Linked DNA regions of Homo sapiens: regions 1, 2 and 3 are each linked to region 4. Evidence: promoter capture Hi-C in human tissues and cell types (Jung and others, 2019). All regions are on one chromosome and are shown on one strand. The core of a region is centred on a gene start or on the middle of the fragment in contact, and the rest is flanking DNA. Distances in the headings are between cores, read along the strand shown. Region 1 overlaps LOC122539214 (Zinc finger protein LOC122539214). Region 2 holds the start of LOC137778871 (a long non-coding RNA gene). Region 3 overlaps LOC124904758 (a long non-coding RNA gene). Region 4 holds the start of ZNF600 (zinc finger protein 600).

Region 1 (7,495 bases), core at 606-3,105, 130 kb before region 4:
GCAGGCGGATCACAAGATCAAGAGTTGAGAGCAACCAGGCCAACATGGTGAAACCCTGTCTCTACTAAAAACATAAAAATTAGCCAGGCTTGGTGGAGCATGCTTGTAGTCCCAGCTACTCAGGAGGCTAGGAAGGAGAATCGTATGAACCTGGGAGGTGGAGGTTGCCGTGAGCCGAGATCACGCCACTGCACCCCAGCCTGGACAAAAGAGTAAGACTTCATCTGAAAAAAGAAAAAAAAATGACTGCCACAATTATCACAGTTGTGAGGTTCTCTCCCATATGAATTCTCCTGTGTTTTGCATAAGATGAAGCTTGACTGAAGACCTTGCTGCAATCATGACATTTGTAACGTTTCTTTCCAGTATGAGTTCACTGATGAACTGCAAGCTATGAACAATGTCTGAAATATCTGCCACATTTACTACACTTGTAAGATCTCTCTTCATTATGGATTCTCTAATGATTTGCAATGCTTGTAGCATTACTGAGGACTTTGTGAGAATCATTACATTTGTAAAGTTTCCCTATACCATGGATTGCTTGATGATGAATAAGTGATGACTGCCCACTAAAGGCTTTGCCACACTCATTGCACTTATAAGGATTTTCTCCAGTATGAAGTCTATGATGGCATACAAAGGATGACATATGACTGAAGGTCTTGCCACACTCATTGCACTTGTAAGGTTTCTCTCCACTATGAAGTCTATAATGGTATACAAAGGATGACATATGACTGAAGGTCTTGCCACACTCATTACACCTGTAAGGTTTCTCTCCAGTATGAACTCTCTGATGTTGTGCAAGGTTTGACTGTTGATTAAAAACCTTGCCACATTCATTACACTTGTAAGGTTTCTCTCCAGTATGAATTGCCTTATGAATTAGAAGGGATGAATTTCGAGCAAAGGTCTTGCCACACTCATGACAGTTGTAAGGTTTTTCTCCGGTATGAAGTCTACGATGGCCCACAAGGGATGACTTCTGACTGAAGGTCTTGCCACACTCATTACACTTGTAAGGTTTCTCTCCAGTATGAAGCCTATAATGACATGCAAGGTGTGCTTTTTGATTAAAAACCTTACCACATTCATTACATGTGTAAGGTTTCTCTCCAGTATGAACTCTCTGATGTTGTGCAAGGTATGAATCACGCTGGAAAACCTTGCCACATTCATTACATGTGTAAGGTTTCTCTTCAGTATGAACTCTGTTATGGCGTGAAAGGCATGAATTATGCCTAAAAGCTTTGTCACAAACCTTACATTTGTATGGTTTCTCTCCAGTATGAATTCGCCTATGTGTTTCAAGTTGTGATCTGCAACTGTAAACTTTGTCACATCCTTCACATTTGTAAGGTTTCTCTCCAGTATGACGTCTACGATGCCCTACAAGGGATGACGTCTGACTGAAGGTCTTACCACACTCATTACACTTGTAAGGTTTTTCTCCAGTATGAAGTCTATGATGGCGTGTAAGAGATGACTTGTGACCGAAGGTCTTGGAACACTCATTACACTTGTAAGGTTTTTCTCCAGTATGAACTCTATGGTGCCATGCAAGGTATTGCTTTTGATGAAACACTTTGCCACATACATCACATTTATATTGTTTCTCTCCTGAATGGGTTACATGATGTCTTCTTAAATGTGAGCTATAATTAAAGGCTTTGCCACACTCATTACATTGGAAAGGTTTTTCTCTCATGTGTTCTTCCTGGATTTGTGTCAATAATGAAGAATGGAGAAAGTTCTTCCCATACCTATTAGAAATATGGGTTTTGAGCCTACAAGAAATTCTTTGGGATGTTGAAACCAAGGAAGCATTGTTGATAGACTTCTCCACTTGATTATCAATTTTCCCTTCAGTCTGAAATTCGTGCAGTTCAGGCAGATGTGAATAAAAGCTTGATCCAAGCTGATCTTTAATAGGCTTGTTTCCAGCATGCCTTTGATCACGTCGGTCTGTACTACCAGTCAACTTTTTGATTTTTGTCATGGGTGCTTCATGGCCATTTCTTTTAATTTCTTGCCACTGAAACTCAAAGTCATGAATATCTTTCTTGATTTCTGGGAAGCAAAAATCTCCAATGTGATGACTTTTATGTCTTTGCAATGTCCCTGTGTGGATCACTTCTCCTGTATTACCGTGCCCTGTTGATGAGAACTCCGTCATGGATTTTAAAGAGCTATCTAAAAAATATAAAGACCAATAGGTTTCCAATTAAGTACAGATGGTAAATAATATTTAATACTGAAATGTGTTAATATTACACAAAAAGCAATACTTATTTTAAAATTCCCAAATATGATCTTCAAAGTTTAAGAACACCCTGTCTCTATTAAAAATACAAAAATTAGCCAGGCATGGTGGTGGATGCCTGTAATCCCAGCTACTCAGGACGCTGAGGCAGGAGAATTTCTTGAACCTAGGAGGCAGAGATTGCAGTGAACAGAGATCACATCATTGCACTCCAGCCTGGGCAACAAGAGCAAAATTCCATGTCAAACAGAGTTCAGTCAAGAGCCTCATATATATGATGCAGTAAGCCTGAATGATGTCCTCCCTAAGAGGAATTTCTACAGCAGTGACTGCTGTTTAGAGAACATGATCATTAGTTTATGTGATGATCACTGTCACAGTACCAGTGAGAGATGCTTCTGTGATGCTCCTTAAAAACCAGAACAAAAGGCCAAGGGTGGTGGCTCAGGTTTGTAATCCCAACACTTGGCTAGAGGCTGAGGTGGGCAGATTGCTTGAGACAAGGAGTTTGAGACCAGCCTGGCCAACATGGTGATTCCCCATCTCTAATAAAAATACAAAAATTAGCAAGGCATGGTGACTTGCATCTGTAATTCCAGTTAGGTTGGGAGGCTGAGGTATGAGAATTGCTTGAATGCAGGAGGCGGAGGTTGCAATGAGCTGAGATCACAACAGTGCACTCCAGCCTGAGCAAGAGAGGGAGACTCTGTCTCAAAAAACAAAACAAAACAAAAGCAGAATCACAGCTGGAAACACTTGTCAGTCACTGTCATGCTTTCTAGCTCATCTCCTGGGCCACCCTGACAATTCTGCTCAGGGCTACCAGGGGCATCTCTGCTTAGAGCAGGATGACGTTCAATTCTATTAGTCAAAGTGTTCATGAATGTTCTGTTTTTATGTAAAACCACTCCATAGGATAGTCTCTAAGAAGCTGTCTATGACAGACAGGAGGATCATCACTGCAGAAAACAATGACATGTACATCAAAAGCATGTATGCGGCAAAATCACAAAAGAGAATACAAAACCAGGAAGAGCCAAGATAGACAAGGGCAGATTCCTCACATCAGGAGGGACATTTTCCTCACCCACAGACTCCAGGTTCCTGTAGTTCTCCAACATCACGGCCCTGTATAAAGCCCTCTGTGCAGGGTTCAGGCATTTCCACTCCTCCAAAGAGAATTCTATAGCCACATCCCTGAAAGTCAAGCATCCCTAAAATTAAACACACATTTCAACAAAACATTAGGGAGGAGTCATTACCTTCACACAAAATGAGAAAAGAGAAAATAAGTATTGATTTGATCCAAGACGGTGTTCTGACAAACCCACATTAAGGTATTTTTGAACATTTCTTTTTGTGCAGTTGCATTTTATTGTACTTTCCCATGATAGATTTTGAAATCTCCTAGTCACTGTGGAAGTCTCAGTTTTATGGAAAATACAAAAAATATATGTCTGGGCACGGTGGCTCACACCTGAAATCCCAGCAGTTTGGGAGGCTGAGGTGGGTGTATCAACTGAGCTCAGGAGTTCGAGACCACCCAGGGCAACATGGTGAAACCAAGTCTCTACTGAAAACACAAAAACATTAACTGGGTGTGGTTGTGCATGCCTCTAGTCCCAGCTATTTGGGAGGCTGAGGTAGGAGTATAGCTTGAGCTCCAGAGGCAAAGGTTGCGGTGAGCTGAGATTGTGCCACTGCAATTCAGCTTGGGCTGCAGAGTGAGACTCCGTCTCTCTCTCTCTCTCTCTATATATATATATAGCCAGGCATGGGGGCTCACACCTATAATCCTGTCACTTTGGGATACCAAGGTAGGTGGATCACTTAAGGTCAGGAGTTTGAGACCAACCTGGGCTACATTGTGAAACCCCATATCTACTAAAAATAGAAAAATTAGCTGGGCATGGTGGGGGAATGTGCCTGTAATCCCAGCTATTTGGGAAGCCGAGGCAGGGGAATTGCTTCAACTCTGGAGGCAGAGGTTGTGGTAAGCTGAGATGACAGCACTGCACTCCAGCCAGGGCAACAGAGCAAGTCTTTCTCAAAATAAAAATATATGTATGTATATATTGCAAATAATGTGTTTTCTACTAAAACCATGGGCTTGGCTTGGCATGGTGGCTCACACCTATAATCCGAACACTTATGGAGGCTGAGGCATGTGGATCACAAAGTCAAGAGATTAAGACAAGCTGGGCCAACATGCTGAAACACTGACACTATTAAAAACACAAAAATTAGCTTGGTATGGTGGTGTGCGCCTGTAGCCCCAGCTACTCAGGAGGCTGAGGCAGAAGAATCACTTGAACTCGGGAGGCTGAGGTTGCAGTGAGCTGAGATAGTGCCATTTCATTCCAGCCTATCGACAGAGCGAGACTCCGTCTCAAAAAAAAAAAAAAAAAAAAAATCATGGGCTTCTCCATTAATGCTCTCCTGGACACATTGCAAATCACACCTACACACACTTCAATTAACTTCAGTCGGGACATTATAAGCAAAGACCTAGAGAGGACACATCCACAGCTACTCACGAGGCTGAGGTGGGAGGATTGCTTGAGCCTGGAGAGCAGAGTTTGAAGTGATCCAAGATTGCACCACTGCACTCCAGCCTGGGGGACACAGCGAGACCCTATCACCCCCACCCTCCCAAAAGTTGGAAGCTCATTGAATTAAGAGACAACTTCAAGAAATCATAAATGCAATGCATGAAGAAAATGAGAAGGTCAGCCAACATACAGAAATTACGAAGAACTACACAGAAACTCTCGGGCTAAAAATACAGTAACTAAATGGAAAAACTCAATACATGGGTTCAAAATCAGAATACATTATGTAAATTAAAAATTAGTGAAAAGGGGACAGGTGAGGTAGCTCATATCAGGAATTTGGGAGGCTGAGGTGGGTAGATCACTTGAGGTCAGCAGTTCGGAGACCAGCCTCATCAATATGGTGAAACTTTGTCTCTACTAAAAATACAAAGATTAGCTGGGTGTAGTGGTGGGCTCCCCACTGCACTCCAGCCTGGGTGACAGAGTGAGACTGTCTCAAAAAATAATAAAATAATTTTTTAAAAAAGGCCAGGCATGGGCCAGGCACAGTAGCTCATGCCTGTAATCCCAGCACTTTGGGATGCCAAGGCAGGCGGATCACCTGAGGTCAGGAATTCGCGACCAGCCTGACCAACATAGAGAAACCCCGTCTCTACTAAAAATACAAAATTAGCCAGATGTGGTGGTGCATGCTTGTAATCTCAGTTACTTAGGAGGCTGAGGCAGGAGAATCGCTTGAACCTGGGAGGTGGAGGTTGCAGTGAGCCGAGATTGCATCATTGCACTCCAGCCTGGGCAACAAGAGAAAAACTCTGTCTAAAAAAAAAAACAGGCATGGTGGCTCATGACTGTAATCCTAGCACTTTGGGAGGCCAAGGCGGGGGGATCACCTGAGGTTGGTAGCTCAAGACCAGCCTGATCAACATAGAGAAACTCTGTCTCTACTAAAAATACAAAATTAGCCGGGTATGGTGATGCATGCCTGTAATCCCGGCTATTCAAAAGGCTAAGGCAGGAGAATTGCTTTAACCATGAAAGCGGAGGTTGCAATGAGCCAAGTTCATGCCATTGCACTCCACCCTCGGCAACCAGAGTGAAACTTCATCTCAAAAAAAAAAAAAAAAAGTAGTGAATAGGAAAAGAAACAACAACAAAGAATAAAGAAAAATGAAGGGAGTCTAAACAGACTAACAGGACACCATCAAGGACACCATCCTACACATTATGAAAGTCCCAGGCCAGGTTCTGGCTCATGCCTGTAATTTCAGCACTCACGCCTGTAATTCCAGCACTTTGGGAAGCCAGGGTGTGGGGATCACCTGAGGTCAGAAGTTCATGACCGGCCTGGCCAACATGGTGAAATTTCATCTCTACCAAAAATACAACAATTAGCCAGGTGTGGTGGTGCGCACCTGTAACCTCAGTTACTTGGGAAGCTGAGGTGAGAGAATCGCTTGAATCCAGAGGCAGAGGCTGGAGTAAGCCGAGATTGCACCACTGCACTCCAGCCTGGGTGACAGTGTTGGGATTTACTCAAGATAGGGGCAGAAATATTAAAGAGAAATATTAGGGAAAGTTATAGGGAATAGTCACAAACCTTTTGGAAGGCCGAAAGGTTATATAGCTTGTAATAATTGAACAGGCTGAAGGCACCCGGTTCTTACCTTAGAGCATTAGGTCATAGGGTAAATACTAGGGACAATAGAGGCTTCCCCAGTTAAGCCTGTTTACCCTACCTCCATTAACTAACCTTTGAGCCAGATGGCCCTCTAGCGGGAGGCTGACCAGGGAAATTGCCCCTTAATGGTATTTACTTCAGATCACAGTACCTGAGCTTTAATCATTCATGAAACTACTCTCTTAACCATGCTAATTATCCTCAAGTGTGTTTACTCAAACTTCTGTTGTTAATTCTATTCTAAATAAATGCCTGGAGTGCGAGCTGCTCAGGGCCGGCTCTTGGTGTGCAGGCGATTGGGCACCCAGCAGGACTGGCAAAGCAGAATATCTATGTGTCGGTGTACGTTTCATTCATCCGTCTGGGCCAGGGTCCGTGGGCAGACCCCCGCAGCTAATGCCCTCTTGTGAGGAGCAATACCTCAGTTGATGTCCTGTGTGAGGAAAGTCAGGGATCTGCAGAAACAGACCCCCCACAGTTCAAGCCTCTCTTGAGGCAACCTGTGAAGGAAGCGTGAGGACCGCCCTCTTGAGGAAAGCTGCGATGGAAGCATGAGGAACGCGACCCCCGAAAACAAAGGCAAAGAAGGATTTCGTGGTCAAGCCAGTGAGTAATCAGTAAGTCATTGGTGCCCACTCGAGGTTACCACCTTCTGGGGGAAGTTGAGTCAAGCTAAGGTTTCATCACGGGACAATAGTTGTCAGCTCAACAGAAACGGTATATAAAAATGTTCAGACAGTTGCTTAAGGCTACTGGTCGGAAACACAGCAGAACTAGCAAAACGGAATTATCTGTGTGTCAGTGTATGTTTTATTCATATGTGGTTTAGGTCAGGGTTGACATGCAGATCCCACAGCTAATGCTCTCTTGTGAGGAGCAATACCTCAACAGAGCAAGACTCCAACTCAAAAAAAAAAAAAAGAGTACCAGAAGTCACAGAAGTGAGTGAGAAGAAGAAAGGAACAGAAAAGCTTGTTGGAAGGCATAATGGCAAAA
Region 2 (7,675 bases), core at 2,353-4,852, 190 kb before region 4:
TTTTTGTTTTTTGTTTTGAGACAGAGTTTCACTCTTGTTGCCCAGGCTGGAGTGCAATGGTGCGATCTCGGCTCACTGCAACCCCCACCTCCCAGGTTCAAGCGATTCTCCTGCTTCAACCTGCCTAGCAGCTGGGATTACAGGCATGTGCCACCAAGCCCGGCTATTTCTGTATTTTTAATAGAGACAGGGTTTCTCCATGTTGGTCAGGCTGGTCTCGAACTCCCGACCTCAGGTGATCTGCCCACCTTGGCCTCCCAAAGTGCTGGGATTACAGGCATGAGCCACCGCACCTGGCCCGTTCTGGTTTTTGAGGAGCATCACAGAAGCATCTTTCACTGGCACTGTGACAGTGTTCATCACATAAACTAATGATCATCTTCTCTAAGCAGCAGTCACTGCTGTAGAAATTCCTCCTACGGAGGACATCATTCAGGCTCACTGCCTCATATATAGGAGGCTCTTGACTGAACTCTTTTTTTCTGGACATGGAATTTTGCTCTTGTTGCCCAGGCTGGAGTGCAATGGCATGATCTCCACTCACTGCAACCTCCGCCTCCTGGGTTCAAGTGATTCTCCTGCCTTGGTTTCCCAAGTAGCTGGAATTACAGCCGCCCACCACCATGCCTGGCAAATTTTTGTATTTTTAGTAGAGATAAGGTGTTCTTAAACTTTGAAGATCACTTTTGGGACGTTTAAAATAACTGTTGCTTTTTGTGTAATATTTACACATTTCAATATTAACTATTATTTACCATCTGTACTTTTTTTTTTGAGATGGATTATTGCTCTGTCACCCAGGCTGGAGTGCAGTGGCATGATCTCGCCTCACTGCAAGCTCTGCCTCCAGGGTTCACGCCATTCTCCTGCCTCAGCCTCCCAAGTAGCTAGGACTATAGGCACCTATCACTACACCTGGCTAATTTTTTTGTATTTTTAGTACAGATAGGGTTTCACCATGTTAGCGAGGATGGTCTCGAGCTCCTGACCTTGTGATCCACCTGCCTCGTCCTCCCAAAGTGCTGGGACTACAGGTGTGAGCCACTGCACCTGGCCTACCATCTGTACTTAATTGGAAACCTATTGGTCTTTATATTTTTTAGATAGCTCTTTAAAATCCATGATGGAGTTCTCATCAACTGGGCACGGTAATACAGGAGAAGTGATTCACACAGGGACGTTGCAAATACATGAAAGTCATCACACTGGAGATTTTTGCTTCCCAGAAATCAAGAAAGATATTCATCACTTTGAGTTTCAGTGGCAAGAAATTTAAAGAAATGGCCATGAAGCACCCATGACAGAAACCAAAGAGTTGACAGGTAGTACAGACTGACGTGATCAAAGACATGCTGGAAACAAGCCTATTAAAGATCAGCTTGGATCAAGCTTTCATTCGCATCTGCCTGAACTCCACATGTTTCAGACCCAAGGGAAAATTGGTAATCAAGTGGAGAAGTCTATCAATGATGCTTCCTCAGCTTCAACATCCCAAATAATTTGTAGGCTCAAAACCCATATTTCTATTAAGTATGGGAAGAATTTCCTCTATTCTTCATTATTCACACAAATACAAGAAGTACACATGAGGGAAAAACCTTTCCAATGTAATGAGTGTGGCAAAGCCTTTAATCATAGCTCATGTTTAAGGAGACATCACGTAACCCATTCAGGAGAGAAACAGTATAAATGTGATGTATGTGGCAAAGTCTTTCATCAGAAGCAATACCTTGCATGGCACCATAGTGTTCATACTGGAGAAAAACCTTACAAGTGTAATGAGTGTTCCAAGACCTTCAATCAGAAGTCATCCCTTCAGTGTCATCATAGACTTCATACTGTACAGAAACATTACAAATGTGAAGAATGCAACAAAGTTTAGAGTTGAGGATCACAACTTGAAACACACAGGAGAATTCATACTGGAGAAAAACCATACAAACGTAAGGTTTGTGACAAGGCTTTCTGGGATAATTCATGCCTTTCATGCCGTAAGAGTTCATACTGGAGAGAAATGTTACACATGTAACGAATGTGGCAAGGCTTTTAGTAGAAAAGCAAACCTTGCACATCATGGACTTCATACTGGAGGGAAATCTTACAAATGTAAGGGTTGTGACAAGGTTTTCCACCATGATTTATGCCTTGCACAACATCAGAGAGTTCATACTGGAGAGAACCTTACACATTTCACGAGTATGGAAAGACCTTTGCTCAAAATTCAGCCCTTGTAATGCATAAGGCAATTCATACTGGAAAGAAACCTTACACATGTAATGAATGTGGCAAGGTTTTTAGTAGAAAAGCACACCTTGCATGTCATCATAGACTTCATACTGTCTAAGGTTTCTAATCAACAATCAAACCTTGCACAACATCAGAGAGTTTATACTGGAGAGAAACCTTACAAGTGTAATGAGTGGGGCAAAGCCTTAAGTGGGAAGTCGTCACTTTTTTATCATCAAGCAATCCATGGTGTAGGGAAACTTTGCAAATGTAATGATTGTCACAAAGTCTTCAGTAATGCTACAACCATTGCAAATCACTGGAGAATCCATAATGAAGACAGATCTTACAAGTGTAATAAATGTGGTAAAATTTTCAGACATCGATCATATCTTGCAGTTTATCAGCGAACTCATACTGGAGAGAAACCTTACAAATATCATGACTGTGGCAAGGTCTTCAGTCAAGCTTCATCCTATGCAAAACATAGGAGAATTCATACAGGAGAGAAACCTCACAAGTGTGATGATTGTGGCAAAGTCTTGACTTCACGTTCACACCTCATTAGACATCAGAGAATCCATACTGGACAGAAATCTTACAAATGTCTTAAGTGTGGCAAGGTCTTCAGTCTGTGGGCACTCCATGCAGAACATCAGAAAATTCATTTTTGAGATAACTGTTCCAAATACAGTGACTATAGAAGATCATAAAGCTTTAATTGACATTAGAGCCAAATAGGCATTGACTTGAGATTGAGTTGACTTAACCTTGAGTTTAAGAATTAATTTACATTAAAGTGTTTATGTTAAGAAGATTGGGCCAGGTGGGGTGGCTCATGCCTGTAATCCCAGCACTTTGGGAGCCCAAGGCTGATAGATCACAGCCACACCTGGCTATGAGAGTGTGTAGGTGGCCGTTGGGGTGGGACCTGATTAGAAGGGGCAGGGCCTTGAACAGAATCTGGGCGGGGCAAGAATGAGGAGGCTGCCTGGAGGCCGGGCCAGAGGGTGATCGTCATCTTGAGGGCAAGGTCTGGAAGTGGTGTTTTGAAGGGCAGGGTCTCGAGGGGGCGGGTCCTGGCTTTCTCCTCAGCTGGACCCCAGGTGTCGTCTGCTGTCATCCTCTTGCCCTGCAGGACTAGATTCTCCGGGTACTAATTGGTGGATAGTTTCTGATGTGCCGTGATATTACCCCTAATATCACAGGGATGCCTCCTGTCCATTTTAGAGACTTGCTCTGTCGCCCAGGCTGGAGGGCAGTGGCGCGATCTCGGCTCATTGCAAGCTCCGCCTCCCGGGTTCATGCCATTCTCCTGCCTCAGCCTCCCGAGTAGCTGGGACTACAGGCGCCCGCCACCATGCCTGGCTAATTTTTTGTATTTTCAGTAGAGACGGGGTTTCACTGTGTTAGCCAGGATGGTCTCGATCTCCTGACCTCGTGATCCGCCCGCCTCGGCCTCCCAAAGTGCTGGGATTACAGGCGCGAGCCACCGCGCCCGGCCCCTAAGTTAATATTTCAAACAATCGAAGGTAAAACAACATATTGTGTTGGGCCACCTGTACTGAACGCTGAATCGTTTTTCCTCTTAAGTTGAAAATGGTTTTAATGCAAAGCGCCTTTTTTGAGCAGGTAGAGTCACGCATCCGGCAGGCGGGGCGAGCTCCCCTCTGTCTGGGGCAGGGTGGGGGAGAGGGGCAGGGACCTCGGTAAAGGGGTGGAGTGGCGCGCTGGTTGCCGCGGGCACTGGCAATTAGAAGGGATTATTAAACTAAGCAAGGTCCTGGGTTGTTTGAGTGGATAATGGAAACTGAAAGGTGACGTGCAAAACTGCCTATTACTCCCAGGAGTGGAGGATAATTTCATATTTCATGGAAATAAACTCAGGGCCCGGAGCGGTGGCTCACACCTGTAATCCCAGCACTTTGAGAGGCCAAGGAGGGAGGATCGCTTAAGCCCAGGAATTCGAAATCAGCCTAGGCAACATAGTAAGACCTCATCTCTACTAAAAATAAAAAAAAACAGCCAGGTGTGTTAGTCCACACCTGTGGTCCCAGCTGCTTGGGGTGCTGAGGTGGGAGGATCACTTGAGCCAGAAAGTTGGAGGCTGCAGTGAGCTCTGATCTTGCCACCACACTCCAGCCTGGGTGAAAAAGCTAGACCCTGTCTCAAACAAGCAAATAAATGAGAGGTATAAGTCCTCCTTTAAAAGTAAAGGAAGAGATTTTTCTTTCCTTTTGTCTCTTAGAACATTCAATTAGAAAATTTGTAAATTCATTTTCTCTGTCTTCTGAGGTTTTTTTTTTTAGACAGAGTTTTTCTCTTGTTACCCAGGCTTGAGTGCAAGCCACGATCTCGCCTCACCACAACCTCCGTCTCCCGAGTTCAAGCGATTCTCCTGCCTCAGCTTCCCGAGTAGCTGGGATTACAGGTATGAACCACTATGCCCGGCTAACTTTGTTTTTTTTTTTTAGAAATTAAACCTTTTTTCAGCTTAATGACCCAGGGGTGTATTTTTGAAGGACTTGGGAGCTCTCTTTGAAAGGCAAACAACAAGGGAAACAGTACCTTTATCTCAGTAGGAAATTAAATAATTCAAACATCAAATAACTTCAATTTAAGGCTATGGACTTTGAGATAATTCTGAGCCTTGAGAGGAATGTGGTCAGGCAACCTGAGTCCAGTGGAATGCAGGTGCAACTTCTAAGAGTTTTCCTGTAAGTAATTAAGAAGACTAAGTAGCCCCAGAGATAAGACCTCCTCGGATCATTGTCCCTTCTTATGTAGTGATAAAGTAACCTTCCTTGAAGTGTATCTATCCGTAATCAATCAAGTTGCTGCAGCCTATGCACTGGCCCAGAATAAAAAACGTGGTGATTCTGCTAAAGCTTCTCTGTCTTTCCCTGTGTGTGAAATCTTAACGTCTCTACTTGGGAACGCTGATCCCATTCATTTAGAGTTGATGTTTCCACGTGGCTATTTCCAAGCTTTGCCTTCAAATAAATTCTGTACTTAATCATATATTCTAAATTTTATTATTTACTGCTGACATCAGTTTCTGTCGGATTGTAGGAGCCTCACCAGAGAGGGCCCCTGTCGCCATGTTGTAAAACTCACACTTGCCAAAAGTTGTGGGTTAGGGTTTCTCCCCCTCCCTCAGGATGACGCTAGTTAGCTGACACAGATGGTCACCTCCATTACCAAGTAGAGTCAGGATGAACTATGTGTGACTGTTCAACTATGTGTCCTCTTCCCTGAGGACTGATTAGTGTTTATCTTGAAAACATGTCCTTAATGGGTTGTATAGAACACTGAAGCATCTGATTTCAAACTCTTAGCTCTTTTCCTCTATTTCCCATCACATTCTGGTCTAAGGCTTATTTATTAATAAAATGATTTTTATTTCTTTATTATCGTGGAGATGATTTTTCATTTGGGGGAAGATCATTTTGTTTTCAAATATATTGTCTCAACATTTAAATAGTGAAGTAAAGAGTATTTCTTGTGCCAGGCATGGTGGCTCACGCCTGTAATCACAGCACTCTGGGAGGCCAAGGCAGGCAGATCACTTCAAGTCAGGAGTTTGAGACCAGCCTGGCCAACATGGTGAAACCCCATCTCTACCAATTATACAAAAATTAGCCGGACATGGTGGCGCGCTTGTAATGCCAGCTATTCCGGAGGGTGAGGCAGGAGAATCACTTCAACACAGGGTGTACAGGCTGCACTGAGCCGAGACCTTGCCACTGCACTCCAGCCTGGACGACAGAGAAATACTCTGTCTTAAAAAAAAAAAAAGGAAATTAAGAAAGTAATAGATCTCCTCCACAAATGTGCTGGGACAACTAACTTGATATTCACATGGAAAAGAATAATGTTGGATCCCTACATCACACAATCAAAATTTTATTTTAAAAAGTTAGAGAACGAGGAAGGGAGCCCTGCGGGAGGGGGTGTTACTTTGTCGCCCAGGCTGGTCTGGAACCCCAGGCTCAGCAACCCTCCCGCTGCTGCTTCCTGAGTAGCTGGGACCTCAGGCTCCCTCCCCAGTGCCCGCATCTCTGCTGTGTTTAAGCAGCAGGTGGTGACTTCGCTCCTCCCTGGCCTGAGCACTCCGTCCCGCATCCCAGGCGGTGGCCCTAGGGAAGTCTCTGAAGCTGAGCACAGGGTGGACTCTGCCCCCACCGCCGACCCGCCCTCCCCGACCCCGAGTGAATGGAGAATAGAAAGGGAGAGGATTTCTGTTCTGTCCTGTGGGCCCTCAGTATGAAATCGTAGTTCTGCCCAGGCAGGACTTTGCATTTCACATTCTAGTTTGCATCCCCGTTCCAGACAATTCCAGGGCTTTTGACTCATGCCTCAGCCTTCCCGGCCAGTCTCCCTTCCAAAACCCGAAAAACGGAGGCGCTGGGCTCAAGACTGACTCTGTCCCGCCCCGGCCCCGCCCTCTGCCGGTTCTAAAGGGCAAAGTCTCTCCGCCTCGCGCCCCGCTTCCGCCTGCCCAGGCCCCGCCCACCTCCTCCTGGACCCCGCCCAGGCCTGGCTTCTGTCCTGCGCGAGCAGATCAGCGCGAACCTGGAAGCGGAGAGCGTGGAGTGAAGGTCCCACGGCAGCGCGTGAGTTTCTCTCTGTTTTATATTAAGTCTGTGCGTCCCAGGTCCCCGGCGCGTCTGTACCTGGGACGTGGGGTCCCCACAGACCTGGAAATTCTCGCCCGTCTTCACCCAGAGCAAATTGAGACTTCCCTTTGAGAGTCCGGGGTTCACTTCCTTTTGGGTTTAAAATCGCCTTGAAGCTGGTGCGGTCTCTGGTCTTGCTGCTATAGGGCAATGTATACACTTTGTATTGGGTAGTTTTCCTGCTCAAAACCTTTTTCTAACTCCTCCCGCCCCGCGCTTTTTAAAGTCCTTACAGGTGAGGTGGATTCCCGCCCTGGGCGCCTCCCACCCTCGCCTTCGACGGCCCCTCGAGTGCAGCGCCGTGCCCCCAGTCCCGCGGAGGCTGCGTCCTCTGCCTGGTCCTGAGATCCTTCAGACCCCACCATTGTCTTAAGGCGCCGTCGTCCCCCACCTCCCTTCTCGTGCCGGGCCCTGCTGCTCCCCAGGTCTCCTCTCCGCCGTCACCGCTTCCCCTGAGCCCGCGTTGGGAAGGTGTCCGGGGCCTGTCCTGTGACACGGGGTGTCCTTGCCTGCCCAGCTCCAGCCCCTGGAAAATGAGCTCCCCCGGGATGCAGACGTCTTACTCCAAACCCTCCTGTAATTGTATGGGCCAAAGGAATCAGGTGAGAGAGAGCAGTAGAAAACCTGAGATAAGAAAAGAGCAGGAGGAGAAAAGCAACTGGAGAAATGTAGAGAAAAGCTAGATGTACAGAGAGATGAAGGACAGCAAGGAAGAGAGGGGGCAGCAAAGAGGAAGGCTCATCAGAGTGAGGGAGAGGAGGAGGGGTTTG
Region 3 (7,552 bases), core at 149-2,648, 220 kb after region 4:
ACTTTGAGTCTGAAAATGACTGGTGGGTAAGCAAGCATATTAAAAAGCCGATTCGCTCCACAGTCCTCAGCTTGGATTGGCATCCCAACAATGTTTTGCTGGCAGCAGGATCATGTGACTTCAAATGCAGAGTGTTTTCTGCTTACATTAAAGAAGTGGATGAAAAGCCAGCCAGCATGCCCTGGGGCACCAAGATGCCTTTTGGGCAGCTGATGTCAGAGTTTGGTGGCAGTGGCACCGGTGGCTGGGTCCACGGGGTAAGCTTCTCTGCCAGTGGGAGCCGCCTGGCCTGGGTCAGCCACGACAGCACCGTTATCTGTTGCTGATGCCTCAAAAAGTGTGCAGGTCTCAATTCTGAAGACAGAGTTCCTACCACTCCTGAGTGTGTCATTTGTCTCAGAGAACAGTGTCGTGGCTGCTGGCCATGACTGCTACCCAATGCTCTTTAATTATGATGACCGCGGCTGCCTGACCTTCGTCTCCAAGTTAGACATTCCAAAACAGAGCATCCAACGCAACATGTCTGCCATAGAACACTTCCGCAACATGGACACGAGGGCCACGATTGAGGACCACAACATGGCCTTGGAGAGGCTGCACCAGAATAGCATCACTCACGTCTCTATTTATGAGGTAGACAAGCAAGGTTGTCGCAAATTTTGCACTACTGGCATTGATGGAGCCATGACAATTTGGGATTTCAAGACCCTCGAGTCTTCCATCCAGGTCCTCCACATAATGTGAAGCTGAGTGAGCCTTCGCCATCTAGCATGACAAACTGTGGCCAACCGCAGCTGTGCCGTGGCACGATGGCGAGGAAGCTAGACCCAAGGAAACACTGAAAACACATAGCAGGCCAATGCTGTGTGGTTTTGTTTGAATATAAAATTGGTGAAAATGCTGGTTTTTTTAAAGCAGTATTTTTTTTTTTATTTTTTTATTTTTTTTGCGATTTCATTCCATTCTTGACCAAAGCTTCCCTTTAAGTAGTTTATTATGGAAAATTGTCACACTAACTTAAAAGACAGGGTGAGGGAGATATGTAAATTGTCCACTAGAAAATTAAATAAAAGAACTAAATGTGGGAAAAAAAAAAAGAAAGAAAGAAAATACAAGCACTTAGGTCGGGTGCAGTGGCTTACGCCTGTAATCCCAGCACTTTGGGAGGCTAAGGCGGGTGGATCACCTGAGGTGGGGAGTTTGAGACCAGCCTGACCAACATGGAGAAACCCCATCTCTACTAAAAATACAAAATTAGCCAAGCACAGTGGTGCATGCCTGTAATCCCAGTTACTCGGGAGGTTGAGGCAGAAGAATCGCTTGAACCCAGGAGGTGGAGGTTGCAGTGAGCCGAGATGGCGCCACTGCATGCCAGCTTGGGCAACGAAAGCGGAAAAAAGAGGCCGGGCATGGTGGCTCACACCTTTGGGAGCACTTTGGGAGGCTGAGGTGGGTAAATCACCTGAGGTCCGGAGTTTGAGACCAGCCTGGCCAACATGGTGAAACCCATCTCTACTAAAAATTAAAAAAAAAATTATCTGGGCATGCTGGCGGGCGCCCATAATCCCAGCTACTTGGGAGGCTAAGGCAGGAGAATCCCTTGAACCTGGGAGGCAGAGGTTACGGTGTGCCGAGATTGCACCACTACACTCCAGCCTGGGTGACAGAGTGAGACTCCCTCCCCACCGCCCCCCCAAAAAAAAAGAAAAAAGAAAAGAAAATACTAGCACTAATTTATATGTCAGATTCATGTCACATCTCAAATTCATCTAAATTTTCTTGACATCCCTTTTTATACCAGTGGAGCCCTGATGAAGACACTTAATAGAAGTTTTCTCTCTATCAGAGAAATAAGTTGATGAGAATAAACTCAACGAAGGTGAAAATTCTGTTTTTTTCTGTGACCTGGGGGAAAAAGCTTAAGGTGAATTTACATTCAGATTGGTTATACAGAGAGAACATACAGAAGTGGATGAACTCGGTGTAATTAAGTTTTTCTATCCACAAACCAGGTGAAAGTATTGCAGGAGGCAGATAGCGAGGCATGAGCAGGTAAGGAGATTCTGTGTCACCCGCAAGGGGTCCTGATCCAGAACCTAAGAGAGGGTTCTTGGATCTCACGCAAGGAAGAATTCAAGGTGAATCCATACAGTAAAGTGAAAGCAAGTTTATTAAGAGAGTAAAGGAATAAAGTATGGCTACTCCATAGTCAGAGCAGCCTCCTGTTTCATCCTATGACTAAGAATGCCTTCACTTACTGGGAATGTAACCCAGCAGGTCTCAGGCTTATTTTCTCCAGCCCCTATTCCAGATGGAATTGCTCTGGTTCAAATGTCTCTGACACTTTGGAAAGGAATATTTAGAAATGCAACTCACTGGCCAGGCACAGTGGCTCATGCCTGTAATCCCAGCACTTTGGGAGGCCGAGACAGGTGGATCACGAGGTCAGGAGATCAAGACCATCCTGGCTAACACAGTGAAACTCCATCTCTACTAAAAATACAAAAACTTAGCTGGCCTGGTGGTGGGCGCATGTAGTCCCAGCTACTCAGGAGGCTGAGGCAGGAGAATGGCGTGAACCCGGGAGGCGGAGCTTGCAATGAGCCGAGATCGGGCCACTGCACTCCAGCCTGGGTGACAGAGCGAGACTCTGTCTCAAAAAAAAAAAAAAAAGAAAAGAAAAAAGAAAAAAGAAATGCAACTCACTGAGAGTCTCCTTAAAGATGCTGCCCACTGACAGCAAGAAAAGATCAGTGGCTACATTGCCTCCACCTGGCCTTGTGGCTGCACTCCTCTGGCCCAGAAGGGGACTTATCAGGGGCTAGCTGGACATAATCGAGATGGGGGATTTTCCCCATTAACAACCATGTGTACTTCTGCAATAACCCACCCTAGAAGAGCCTTCTGCTCAAAATGATACTGAAACACACATCCCTGGCTGGAGATTTGAGATGCTAATGAGATATGTGACGTGTGTACCAGCACGGACCGTCACAGGGCTTTCCTGATCAGAGGACTTCCTGGAACGTGCTTACTAGGAACATCCCTGCACAGCCCCTTCATGAATAATCATGTCAGATTCTCACAAAAAGGCTCTGCCCAACACTAGTAGGGACAGGCTCATTCTTTTGAGGAGCCCACCCTGCTCCACTGTTCAGGGTATCTCTTCTTTCCGAGCTCCTACGCCTTTAGATAAAGGGCACTTACCTGCTTAACTCTTTCTGCGTGTCTCTTGACTGAATTCAAGGAGACCAAGAACCAGAGGACTTCCACGCCCCTCCTGGTAACATCTGGTGTTTTCCCCTGGTGGCCTGTGAACTGTTCTTCTGGGTAAGTGCCAAAAAGCTGGTGCCAGATCCTCTGGTTGACGACCTCTGCTTCTTTCTGCACTGAAGAACCTCCTGCCCTAATGCAGATCTTGCAGCCTTAAGGGGAGGGGCTTTTCCTCTCGGGCTCTGTTCACTATCAACTGCCCAGTACCATTTCCCTTCAGCCACTGTCACTCTGCTCCCTCTGGCTGACTTCTCAGCTCACCCTGAGGGGTGACAAGCAGAGGAGGGAGGATTTAAACTCCACAGTGAGTAGATCTGAGACACGGTGACCCTCCCTGCAGGAGGCTTGTGAAGGTGGCAGAAAATCCACCCTGGCTGTGCAGTGACTGGGGAGCTTCATATCTTCAACTAAAACTACTATTCCATGTTGAGTCGGCTCTTCTACTTGCTGTTCATGGCAGTTCATTCTCCTGGACACAATATGCCGCCACCGGTGAATAATCCCCCAGGTCACTCTGCTTACTCTTTGCTGTCCCTGTCCTCGTCGCCGGGCTTCCTTGAATTCCTCCTTCGTGTACAAGTGCCTTGTCTGTCCTGCTTGTCTGGGACCTGCTGCGTTTGCTTCACTGCCAATCGCCGGAGGCCTGCCCGGGCCTGTGAGGAAGTTTATACTTATTTTTTCCCTAGAGATGAGACCCAGCTTCGTCCTTTCAGTTGCCTCCTTTCTCACTGCAGGGACCGGCACTGGCAGGATGCTCGCTTACAGGCATCCCTCGTTTACTATCGGGTCCTTCTCCGCCCGACTACTCTTCAAGAATGCCTCATTCTGTGGCTCCTCAAGCGAGCTGTCTGGTTCCTCCGGATGGTCATTTATAGGCCTCTTTCTCAGACCCCAGTTTCTCTTTACAACCGGGGTTTCCTGTGGGTCAATGGGAAGTTCTTCATCCGCCTCCTCAAGCCATTGTTACAGACCTGTACGGCAGTCAGGTGCTTTTTGTATTATGTTGAAAAAGCTGACAGAAAATGCCCCCGGCACTCCCCTTGCTGCTTATGTGATCATATCAGGGACGTAAAAAACCAGAATCAACAGCCCAGTCCACTAACTCTGAGCCCCAGGGGCCTTCCATGCCTGTTTAAGCATTTTTTCTGTATGATCCCCAAGGAACCTACTATGACCAGGGGAAGATATCAAATTTACCTCCATTCCTCTAACCATCTGTATGCATTAATCCAATATTATCATGCATTAAGGGGACCTTACCATGGAGTCCCTTCTCTGCAGACTTTAGCAGGGGCAGAACTACTGGACTTCTTGCAGAACCAAGGTCACTGGGAATATGAGAGACAAGAGAACTACTCCCATGCCCGACGTTCTTACATGCTTCCTGGCCCAACACAGAGGTGAGAAAGGCGTCCCTCCTAGGCATCAATCCTAGGAAATCTAAGAAAGGCTTCTGAGCAAAATGAGATACAGGGAGACAATGGATGGTGCAAATGCTAAGGCTAGCTAATTCTGGAGCCCCAGGGTGAAGAACCAATCATCCCTGTAAATAGAGGCATGGACACTTCACCTAGGCCAAGGTGTGGAATGCCTCACCTTCCTGAGGCACCCAATAGGTGGAGAGATGCCTTCTCTATCCTATATTCATTCCTGTCTTCTCTTTCAGATGGGTAACCAGAGCTCCGTACCCCAGGATTCCCCTCTCGGATGCATCCTTAGAAACTGGGATAAGTTTGATCCCCAGGCATTGAAACGAAAAAGATTGGTTTTTCTTTGCAATACAGTTTGGCCAAAATATGAACTAGAAGGGCAGGAAGCCTGGCCAGTGGGGGGAAGCTTAAATGTTAATACCATACTCCAGCTTGACGTCTACTGCCGACAGCAGCGCAAATGGTCAGAGGTCCCTTATGTGCAAACCTTCATGATCTTGAGGGAAAACCCCGATTTTTGTAAAGGCTGCAAGATAGATCCTGCCCTTTTAGCTATCCTCAGTCGTCCACTCCAGAGACCTCAACCAGGAGGCTTCAATGATTTCCTGGTCAACCCACCTCAACCTCCTCTTCCTGAGACCAAAGAGAAAGAGCAAGCACCCCCAGCTCCTTCCTCCTTGTATCGCACTCTTAGCCTTCATGGGTCAGCCTCAACCTACACTAGGCCCTCAGGCCCCCGCTCTGGAATCTGCCTGCTACCAGTGGTGAGCCGACCAGTAGGACCAGTCCAAGTCCAGGTCCCCTTTTCCATGCAGGACTTGTCCCAAGTTAAGGAAGGCCTGGGAAAATTCTCAGAGAATCCGGGAAAATTCCTGGAGGGCTTCCGTAAATTAACCCTCACTTTTGAACTAACCTGGAAGGATGTCGCCATCCTCCTAGGACAAACCCTGTCTCTGGAAGAAAGACAGACCATCTGGGAGGCAGCACGTCAATGCGGGGATGAGCTACACTTGGCAGATGCCAACTACCCCGTGGGAGCTACAGCTGTCCCCCTGCAGGACCCCAACTGGGACTACGATACCCCGGCAGGAATCTGCGCCAGAAATCATATGCTCCTATGCCTGATAGAGGGAATGAAAAGGAGTCAAGTCAAGCCTGTCAATTATAATAAGTTAGCAACCATCGACCAAGGGCCACATGAGAATCCCACGGCCTTTCTCGAAAGGCTCCAGGAAACTCTTATCAAACATACCAACCTAGACCCGGGATCCCCAGAAGGACAACTAGTCCTAAAGGATCACTTCCTCACACAAGCTGCCCCAGACATTAGGAGAAAACTGCGAATGCTGGCTTTGGGAACTAGAGCCCCCATGTCAGAAATCCTCAAATTCGCTTCCTCAGTGTTTTATAACCGAGACCAGGATGAGAGGGACAGGGCCGAGAGGAAGGAAAAACAGAAAGAAGAGAGGCAGGCTCAATTACTAGCTGCTTTGCAAGTTCACCAGCCCCCTCCAGGTTGCCCTAAGGATACCTTCCCAGGGAACTGCTATCAGTGCGGGAAGCCGGGCCATTGGAAGGCAAACTGCCCCTACGGGCCAAGGGGGGAAAAGCCCTGCACGGCCTGTCCCCTCTGCCGTAAGCTCAGGTACTGGAAAGAGAACTGTCCCGAGAGCCAAAAGGGCCCCTGAGCCAATGATGGCTTTGAGCTGAGGGTGCCCTCTGCCTTGGCCAGCTCCCAGATGTGACATCATCATCAAAGGGATGGAGCCCAGGGCAACTCTGGATGTAGCAGGTAGGACAATACATTTTCTATTTGATTTGAGAGCAGCCTGCTCGGTGCTGACCCCCTTCTCTAGGCAACTTTCCTCTGTCAGGTAATCAGGGTAAATGGCATCTCTTCCTAAGATTTACACCTTCTTTATTGTTAAAAGACCAATTAATCTTTTCCCATGAGTTCCTGATACTGTCTGAATGTCCCATACGTCTTTAGGGCAGGGATATACTCTCCAAACTAGGGGCACGCTTCACATTTACCTGAACTTCCCTGAAAGGCTTTCTTTTTTTTTGGAAGACTCACCCATGACATTGCTGAATTATCTTGATCTGGAATCACAAATAACCCTGAGATATGGGCTTTGATACACTAGGAAGGGCAATAACTGCAGTCCCAGTCAAAATCCAGCTAAGAAAACCTTCCACTTCTTTCATAAGAAACAATACTCGCTATGGCCAGAGGCAACAGAAGGACTTGAGCCTATCATTAACCCATTCCTTAGACATGGCCTGTTAAAGTCTGTAACTCTCCCTGCAACACAGGAAATCTATTCTGCTGGTAGAAAACATTTAAAGGGTTCTCCACTACTGAACCCTGATTAAGTCTGGTTTTCTGATGGCGGCAGTTTCATCCAACATGGAGTGACACATGCAGTTATGCAATAGTGTCTCTATTTGACATTATAGAAGCCAAATCCCTTCCTCCAAGAACATTGGCACAGCTAGCAGAGCTCATTTCCTTAACTAGAGCCATAGAAATAGGGAAAAACCCAAAAGCTACAATTTATACAGATTCAAAATATGCCCTCTCAGGACTCCATGCTCATGTGGCCATCTGGAAGGAACAGGGATTTTTACCAGCAAAAGATACCCCTAAGGAATGTGGACCACAGATCCTGGCCCTGCTCTAAGCTGTACACCTATCACAGGAAATAGCTGTAGTCCATGGCCAGGGACACCAAAGGACCAGGGAGAAAATGCCCAGCAAAACAGGAGGGTGGATCAAACAGCCAGGACCACTACCCTGTAGGGAACTCCTCATGGCCCTTAACCCATCTTTACCCAACACCTTACCC
Region 4 (7,943 bases), core at 1,149-3,648:
CAGACCCTGTCTCAAAATATAAACTAATTAATAAATTAAAAGTATTATGTAATAAGAGAAAGTGATTTTTTTTCCCCCACATCACTGTCCCACTTCCTACCCCACCCTGGGAAAAGGGAAGAGACTGACTCACAACTGAATAACTGGGATTCCAAGTAGAAGCTAACCTCTGATACCAAAATTTATAGAATGTACATGTCTCATAGACAGGAGTTTTAAAATTCTAAATCTCATCTGTATAATTTAAACAAGGTATTAGATGATATACACAGAAGTCAACATGTCACAACTAATCATATCCAATGAACTCACCCACTTATCTGTACCCAAAGTCCCCCACCCTTTTTTTCTTTTGAGACAGGGTCTTGCTCTTTTGACCAGGCTGGAGTACAGTGGCATGATCTCTGCTCACAGCAGCCTGGAGCTCCTGGGCTCAAGTGATCCTCCTGCTTCGGCCTAGAGAAGCTGAAACTGCAGGTGCACACTATCACACCCGGTTAAATTTTTTTTTTCCTTTTTTGACAGAGATGGGGGGAGCCTCACTATTTTGCCCAGGCTGGTCTTGAACTCCTAGACTCAAGCAATCCCTTTGCCTCAGTCTCCTAAAGTGCTGAGATTACAGGCATGAGCCACTGCGCCCAGCCCCTCTTTCTTCATTACTGTGCTTCCCTCCCTAATTCTGTGCATATCTCTCATTCTCCCCTTCTCTCTCTAGCTCTTGTTTTCTTTTCTTTTTCCCTGGGATTGTGCTCCTCATTTTGTACCCCTCTCCTCTCCTGCTGTTTATCCCCTTCTTCCCTCTATTACTTCTCTTCCACCTCTTCTGCTCCATTCTCACAGCTTATTTAACCTCTTTTTTTTTTTTCCTTTTTGAGATGGAGTTTCACTCTTGTTGTGCAGGCTGGAGTGCACCGGTGCGATCTTGGCTCTCACCGCAACCTCTGCCTCCCAGGTTCAAAGGTTTCTCCTGCCTCAGCCTCCCTAGTAGCTGGGATTACAGGCATGTGCAACCGCTCCCAGCTAATTTTATATTTTTAATAGAGACGGGGTTTCTCCCTGTTGATCAGGCTGGTCTCGAACTCCGGACCTCAGGTGATCCACCCGCCTCAGCCTCCCAAAATGCTGGGATTACAGGCATGACCCACAGCGCCCGGTCCTTATTTAACCTCTTGTTGTTCTTTCTCCCCAATCTTTCAATCTTCCTCAATGTCTATATATTACAGCCTCTTCTCTTATCTCTCCGTCTCCTCTGCTCTCCCTATTAAATTCTCTCTTCCCTGTTATACCCCTCTGTCCCCACTCTCCAGCACCTCAGATCCCCAGGTGTCCTCCCTGCTGTGGTTCTCCATCTGTTCTTGCCACCAGCACCACTCTGCTCTGTCTGCCCTGGCTCCAAATCCCTCCTCCTCTCCCTCACTCTGGTGAGCCTCCCTCTTTGCTGCCCCTCTCCCTACCTTGCTGTCCTTCATCTTTCTGTACATCTAGCTTTTCTCTACATTTCTCCAGTTGCTTTTCTCCTCCTGCTTTCTTAGTTTTTTTTCTTTCACTTTTGCTGTCTCTTGGCAAATTCCTAACCCATCCTCTACTTTGCCATCTGTTATGGGCCTTTCTCATTCTTCTTTTCTCTGTCTCTGGTTTTCTACTGCTCTCTCAGTCCCTCTCTCTATCTCCTGATCCCTTTGGCCCAGGCGGGTTTGGAGTAATCACAGGCGGGTTTGGAGTAAGACGCCTGCATCCCGTAGAAGCGCATTTTCCAGGGGGTGGAGCTGGACAGGAAAGAACACCTGGTATCATAGGACAAGCCCCTGCGACCCACCCCAACCCTGGCTCAGGGGAAGCGAAGACTTGGGGAGCAGCAGGGCCCGGCACCAGGAGGGACGTGGTGGGCGACGGCACCCTAAGACAAAGGTGGGACCTGCAGGATCCCAGGACCAGGCAGAGGACGCAGCCTCCCCGGGGCTGGGGCCGGGGCGCCGCGCTCCAGGTGCCAACTGGGGCGAGGCTGGGAGGCGCCCAGGGCTGGAATCCACCTCGCGGGTGAGGACTTTAAAAAGCACGGGGCGGGAATAGTCAGAAAAATGTTTTGAGCAGGAAAAATACGCGATAGGAAGTGTATACATTGCCCTATAGCAGAAAGACCGGGGACGGGACCAGCCTCCGAGCGACTTCAAACCCAAAAGCAAGCAACTTCCAGACTCTTACCGGGACGTCTCAATTTGCTCTGGGTGAAGGGAAGACAGGCGAGAATTTCCAGGTCCGTGGGGATCCCACGTCCCAGGGGCAGAAGCGCCGGGGACCTGGGAAGTGCAGACTTAATCCAAGGCAGAGCAAAACTCACGCGCCGTGGTAGGACCTTCACTCCACGCGATCCGCTTCCGGGTTTGTGCGCGCCCAGGACTGAAGCCAGGCCGGGGCAGGTTGGCTGGACCTGGGCGGGGTAGAGGCGGGGCCCCAGGCGGAGAGACCTTGCCCTTTAGAACCGGCAGAGGGAGGGCCCGGGGCGGGACCTGTGCTTCTCAGCCTCGCACTCAGCGCCTCTGTTTTTCGAGTTTTTGGAGGCGACAGCGGCCAGGAAGGCTGAGGCATGATTCAAAAGCCCTGGAATTATCTGGAACGGGAATGCAAACTAGAATGTGAAATGCAAAGCCCTGCCAGGGCGGAACATACGATTTCATGCTGATGGCCCACAGAACAGAACAGAAATCCTCTCCCTTTCTATTCTCCATTCACTCAGGAGGGAGGGTCCACCCCGTGCTCAGCTTCAAAGTGTTCCCTAGGGCCTCCGCCTGGGATGCGGGACGGAGAGCTCAGGCCAGGGAGGAGTGAGGTCACCACCTGCTGCCTAAACACAGCAGGGATGCGGGCACGAGGCGGAAGCCTGAGGTCCCAGCTACTCAGGAAGCAGCGGCGGGAGAATCCCTGAACCTGGGGGTCCAGGCCATCCTGGGCGACAAAGTAACACCCCCTAACTGCAGGGTCCTCTTCCTGATCTCTCTCTCGCTCTTTTACTTTTTTTTTTTTTTTTTTTTTTTGAGACGGAGTCTCGCTGTGTCGCCCAGGCTGGAGTGCAGTGGCACGATTTTGGCTCACTGCAAGCTCCGCCTCCCGGGTTCACGCCCTTCTCCTGCCTCAGCCTTTCGAGTAACTGGAACTACAGGAGCCCGCCTAACCCAAACAAAAACAAGACCGGGCGCGCTGGCTCACACCTGTAATCTCAGCACTTTGGGAGGCTGAGGCGGGCAGATCATGAGGTCAGGAGATCGAGACCATCCTGGCTAACACAGTGAAACCCCATCTCTACTAAAAAATACAAAAAAATTAGCCAAGCGTGGTGGTGGGTGCCTGTAATCCCAGCTACTAGGGAGGCTGAGACAGGAGAATGGAGTGAACCCGGGAGGCGGAGCGTGCAGTGAGCCAAGATCGTGCCACTGCACTCCAGCCTGGGCGACAGAGCGAGGCTACGTCTCAAAAAAAAAAAAGAAAAAGAAAAAGAAAAAGAAATATCTCCCCTAGTTTGTCTCCTTTTCCAGAATTTACCAGATACCAGTACACAGATACCAGTGCATACATTAATGTATGACTTTCATACATAGATTCTCTGATCTGATCCACAAAGAGCTAAATGTGCATCCAGATGTGGCCCCTGAACAATCCCTGCTGCCCAATATCACTGACACCTTGGGGTCCACACCCCATCTCCATCCATCTCTGGTGTGAGCCCTTCCCAGGACCATGCCCAGTGCAGCCTCTTCCCAAGCTCATGTCACTAGGTTATAGAAGATGGAATTTAAGTGAAGATGACAAGGACTGAGAAAAGGCATGGGTTAGTGTGAGCAAACGTGTGAGGCAGGATGCTTCAGACTCACAGAAGACTGGCTACTACAATACCTGGCATTTCAGAAAGGAAAGAGACAGAAGAATCCACCGAGGAATATTACTCCACCTGAGGAAGAGCCATCCCTGGCTCCTTTTCTTTGCTCCTCTTGGTGTCTTCCTCACGTAACATGAGTCTTTGGAAAATCAATCCTGTATGTAAAAAAAAATACGAGATTTAATTTTTAGAAATCACTCCCTCCTTTCCTGTGACAAAACACACACACAGGGGAGACCTCACCAGGGATAAAGATGGTTCTCTGCTGCCCACTGCACCAGAGATTATGTGGAGATAAGAAGGTGCCACAGGAAGACCTACAAGGGCAATTTTGACCTGTTTTGAGGTCTTGCTCCCTCCTGCAAAAGTCCACACACACGCTGCAGCAGGACACAGATCTTCAGGGCACAGATCTGGCCCTAACCAAACCCCATGCAGAGCACAGCCCCCTCACCTCCCTGTGGATCACAGGCTGATCTCAGCTCTCAACATGGAGGAAACTGCCTTGATGTTCAATGCTGGAGACAGATGAGAATCACCTGCACCATTGTAGGTATTATTGAGGGTGGGTCCCATACTGTGATAATAGCAATCTCTGATAAAACAGCATAGAAGCTATATTTGCAAAATGCCTGAAAACCCTAATGTGAAGCCAAGTTTGAGCTCCACTCAGGGCACCAGCCCCGCAGAGCCCCACCTTCTGGCTCTGCTCTCCGCTTGGGGACTTGTTCCCACCAGGATCCAGTGAACAGCGAAGGAGCAAAAAGGATCACACAGAACAGGCAACATGGGCCAGAGATGGGGGTGAAGGTGGGGCTGTCATGTCAAATGGGGGACTGTGGGAGAACACAAAAGTTTTCATAGAAAAAGTGATGTCAGAACAAAGACTTAGGGAAGAAAGGCTGCTTGTCACTTGCAGCTGAGTGGCCAGAGAGTCCTAGGCAGAGGGACAGCCCAGGTGAAGGCCCTGAGAAAGGAGCAACCTGAGTCCCAGAAAAAGAAAAGAAGCCTGCATGGTTACAGTAGAGGTAGGGAGGAGGACAGAGGCAGGAGTTGATGTCACAGAGCTCCTGGGACTCAGATATCTAGGGATGAGGTCTTGAAACATTTTTCTCTCACATCTCAACTCAAAAGAATTTTGGAAATGTATTTTCTCACTCATTTTATGTATACATGTAACTTTCTCTTCTATACTTTGTCTCTGTGTCTCTTTCTTTTCAAAGTGTCTCGTTCCACCTGACGAGAAATGCCCACAGGTGTGGAGGGGCAACCCACCTCTTCACCAATGCAATCCATCCTGGGCAATGGAGCGAGACTCTATCACAAAAAAGTACAGAGTCCAGCCAGGGAGGCTGTCTCACACCTGGAATGCCAGCAATTTGGGAGGCCAACATGGGAGGATCCCTTGAGGCCAGGAGATCAAGGCTATGGTGAGGTATGATTGCAGCACTGTACTCCAGCCTGGACAACAAAATTAAAAAAAATATGAAAAATACGGCCGTACACTTTAATGAGCATTCGTGTGAAGAGACCACCAAACAGCCTTTGTTTGAGCAACATGGCTGTTTATTTCACCTGGGTGCAGGCGGGCTGAGTCCAAAAAGAGAGTCAGTGAAGGGAGATAGGGGTGGGGCCGTTTTATAAGATTTGGGTAGGTAAAGGAAAACTACAGTCAAAGGGGGTTTGTTCCCTGGTGGGTAGGAGTGGGGGTCACAAGGTGCTCAGTGGGGGAGCTTTTTGAGCCAGGATGAGCCAGGAGAAGGAATTTCACAAGGTAATGTCATCACTTAAGGCAAGGACCGGCCATTTACACTTCTTTTGTGGTGGAATGTCATCAGTTAAGGTGGGGCAGGGCATATTCACTTCTTTTGTGATTCTTTAGTTACTTCAGGCCATCTGGGCGTATACGTGCAAGTCACAGGGGATGCGATGGCCTGGCCTGGGCTCAGAGGCCTGACATACATGTGCCCCACGCCTTTAATTCCAGCACTTTAGGAGGCCAAGAAGGGCAGATCATGAGGTCAGGAGTTTGAGAACAGCCTGGCCAACATGGTGAAACCCTATCTCTACTAAAAATACAAAAATTTTGCAGGTGTGGTGGTGCACACCTTTAGCCCCAGCTACTTGGATGGCTGAGGCAGAAGAATCGCTTGAACCCAGGAGGCAGAGGTTGCAGTGAGTTGAGATCGCATCACTGCACTTCAGCTTGGGCAACAGAGCGAGACTCCATTTCAAAATAAATAAATAAATAAATAAAACAATTACCCACATGTGGTGACCCATGCCTATCTTTCAAGCTCTTTGGGAGTCTAAAGTCGGAATTACTTGAACCTAGGAGTTTCAGGCTGCTGTAAACTCTAAATTGTGCCTTTGTACTCTAAAACTAAGCCACAGAGCAACATTATCTCTCTCTCTCTCCTTTTTTTTTTTTTTTTTTTTTTGAGATGGAGTCTTGCTCTGTTGCCCAGCCTGGAGTGCAGTGGCACAATCTCGGCTTACTGTAACCTCGACTTCCCGGATTCAAGTGACTCTCCTGCCTCAGCCTCCTGAGTAGCTGAGATTACAGGCATGAGCCATCACTCCCAACTCATATTTTTAGTAGAGATGAGGTTTCACCATGTGGGACAGGCTGGTCTCAAACCCCTGGCCTCAAGTGATCCACCCACCTTGGACTCCCAAAATGCTGGGATTACAAGTGTGAGCCACCACACCCAGACCAACATGCTGTCTCTTTAAAAAAAAAAGTTTGAAGTCAGAGACATGTTGATCTACTAGTGTGACTTCAAATGCACTACCAAATCAGATACAAACTATCTCCCCTTATAGGTCTCCTTTTCCAGAATTTACCAGATATCTGTGCATATTAAAGTATATGTTTCATATGTGGTTTCTCTGATCTCATCCACAAAGAGCTGACATCCAGACATGGCCCCTGAACAATGCAGGCTGTGCAGCAGCACTGACACCACGGGGCCCACACCCCATGTCCATTGATGTCTGGGTGTGAGCCCTTCCCAGGACCATGCCCAGTGGAGCCTCTTCCCAAGTTCATGTCACTGGCTCACAGGAGATGGAATCTCAGAGCAGCTGAGAGGAACTGAGGGCAGGCATGGGTGAGTGCAAGTGAATGTGTCAGACAAGATGCTTCAGACTCAGAAAAGACTGGCTGCTACAATACCTGGCATTTCAGAAATGAAAGAGACAGATTAATCCAAAGAGGAATATCACTTCACCTGAGGAAGAGCCATGCCTGGCTCCTTTCCTTTCCTCTTCTGAGTGGCTTCCTCATGCAACATGAGTCCTTAGAAATCAATCCTGAATGTGAAAAAAAAAAGACTTCATGTCAGAAATGACTCACTCCCTTCCTGTGACAAAAACACACAAACAAGGGAGACGTCACCCTCTGGAAAGATGGTCCTTTGCTGCCCACTGCACCAGAGATCATGCAGAGATAAGAAAGTCCCACAGGAAGACCTACAAGTGTATGTTTGACCCTGGTCTTCAGATCTCGCCCCCCTCCTGGAGGAGCCTCCCCCACGAGGCAGCAGTGGGGAGCTGGGCTGGACTGATCTCCCCTTCAGGGCACAGACCCATCCCTGATCAAACCCCATCCAGAGGACAGCCCCTCACCTCTCTGTGGATCACAGGCTGAGCTCAGCCCTCAGAAATGGAGGACTCAGAGCTTCGATGCTCAATGCTGCACACAGATGACAAGCACCTGCGCCACTGCAGGTATTACTGAGGGTGGGTTCCATCCCGTCAGAATAAGAATCCCTGCTAAAGCGGCACAAAAGCTCTATTTGAAAAATGCCTCTAGACTCTAATGTGAAGCCAGGGTTGAGCTCCACTCAGAGGGCGTGAGCCCAGCACAGCCCCACGTTCAGGCTCTGCCCTCCCCTTGGGGCCTTCTTCTCACCAGGATCCAGACAGTGGATGGCAAAGGAGCAAAAATAATCACACAGAACAGGCAATGTGGACCAGAGGTAGGGTGAGCGTTGGGCTGTGTGAAAGGAAATAAATCTTTGAGCCCCAAATCACTAAGCAAAAAGGAAAAGTCAAGCTGGGAACTGCT

Evidence for each region. Contacts are between HindIII fragments. The study calls those that stand out against the background at their distance.
Region 1: a fragment that was not itself captured here is called in contact with the fragment with the promoter of ZNF600 in region 4 in 2 of the 25 tissues and cell types used here (H1 embryonic stem cells and adrenal gland).
Region 2: a fragment that was not itself captured here is called in contact with the fragment with the promoter of ZNF600 in region 4 in 5 of the 25 tissues and cell types used here (heart left ventricle, mesendoderm cells, pancreas and 2 more).
Region 3: a contact is called between a fragment that was not itself captured here and the fragment with the promoter of ZNF600 in region 4, in 1 of the 25 tissues and cell types used here (pancreas).

What each region holds. Positions count from the first base shown.
Region 1 is chr19:52,652,208-52,659,702 of GRCh38, forward strand. LOC122539214 (Zinc finger protein LOC122539214) reads right to left here. Exons shown (of 4, transcript NM_001396016.1): 3 at 3,354-3,480; 4 at 1-2,196. The coding sequence ends at 461. It also overlaps a transcript of ZNF83 not described here. Among named protein-coding and RNA genes, the nearest start is that of ZNF83, 18 kb to the left of the region's middle. The HindIII fragment of the contact is 5,670 bases long and covers 1-4,690 here.
Region 2 is chr19:52,594,514-52,602,188 of GRCh38, forward strand. It overlaps LOC137778871 (a long non-coding RNA gene), which reads left to right and starts at 6,788. Exons shown (of 3, transcript NR_197425.1): 1 at 6,788-6,842. It also overlaps a transcript of ZNF701 not described here and the pseudogene ZNF137P. RefSeq lists a silencer at 6,648-6,707 and enhancers at 6,828-6,887, 6,840-7,346, 6,958-7,007, 7,668-7,675. The HindIII fragment of the contact is 3,122 bases long and covers 2,042-5,163 here.
Region 3 is chr19:53,004,408-53,011,959 of GRCh38, forward strand. LOC124904758 (a long non-coding RNA gene) reads right to left here. Exons shown (of 2, transcript XR_007067327.1): 2 at 2,153-4,244. It also overlaps the pseudogene ARPC1AP2. Among named protein-coding and RNA genes, the nearest start is that of ERVV-1, 5.7 kb to the right of the region's middle. The HindIII fragment of the contact is 4,230 bases long and covers 1-3,513 here.
Region 4 is chr19:52,784,393-52,792,335 of GRCh38, forward strand. ZNF600 (zinc finger protein 600) reads right to left here and starts at 2,399. Exons shown (of 6, transcript NM_001321866.4): 1 at 2,203-2,399. RefSeq lists enhancers at 1,359-2,217, 2,218-3,075, 5,378-5,908, 6,440-6,969 and a silencer at 2,408-2,557. The HindIII fragment of the contact is 28,786 bases long and covers 1-7,943 here.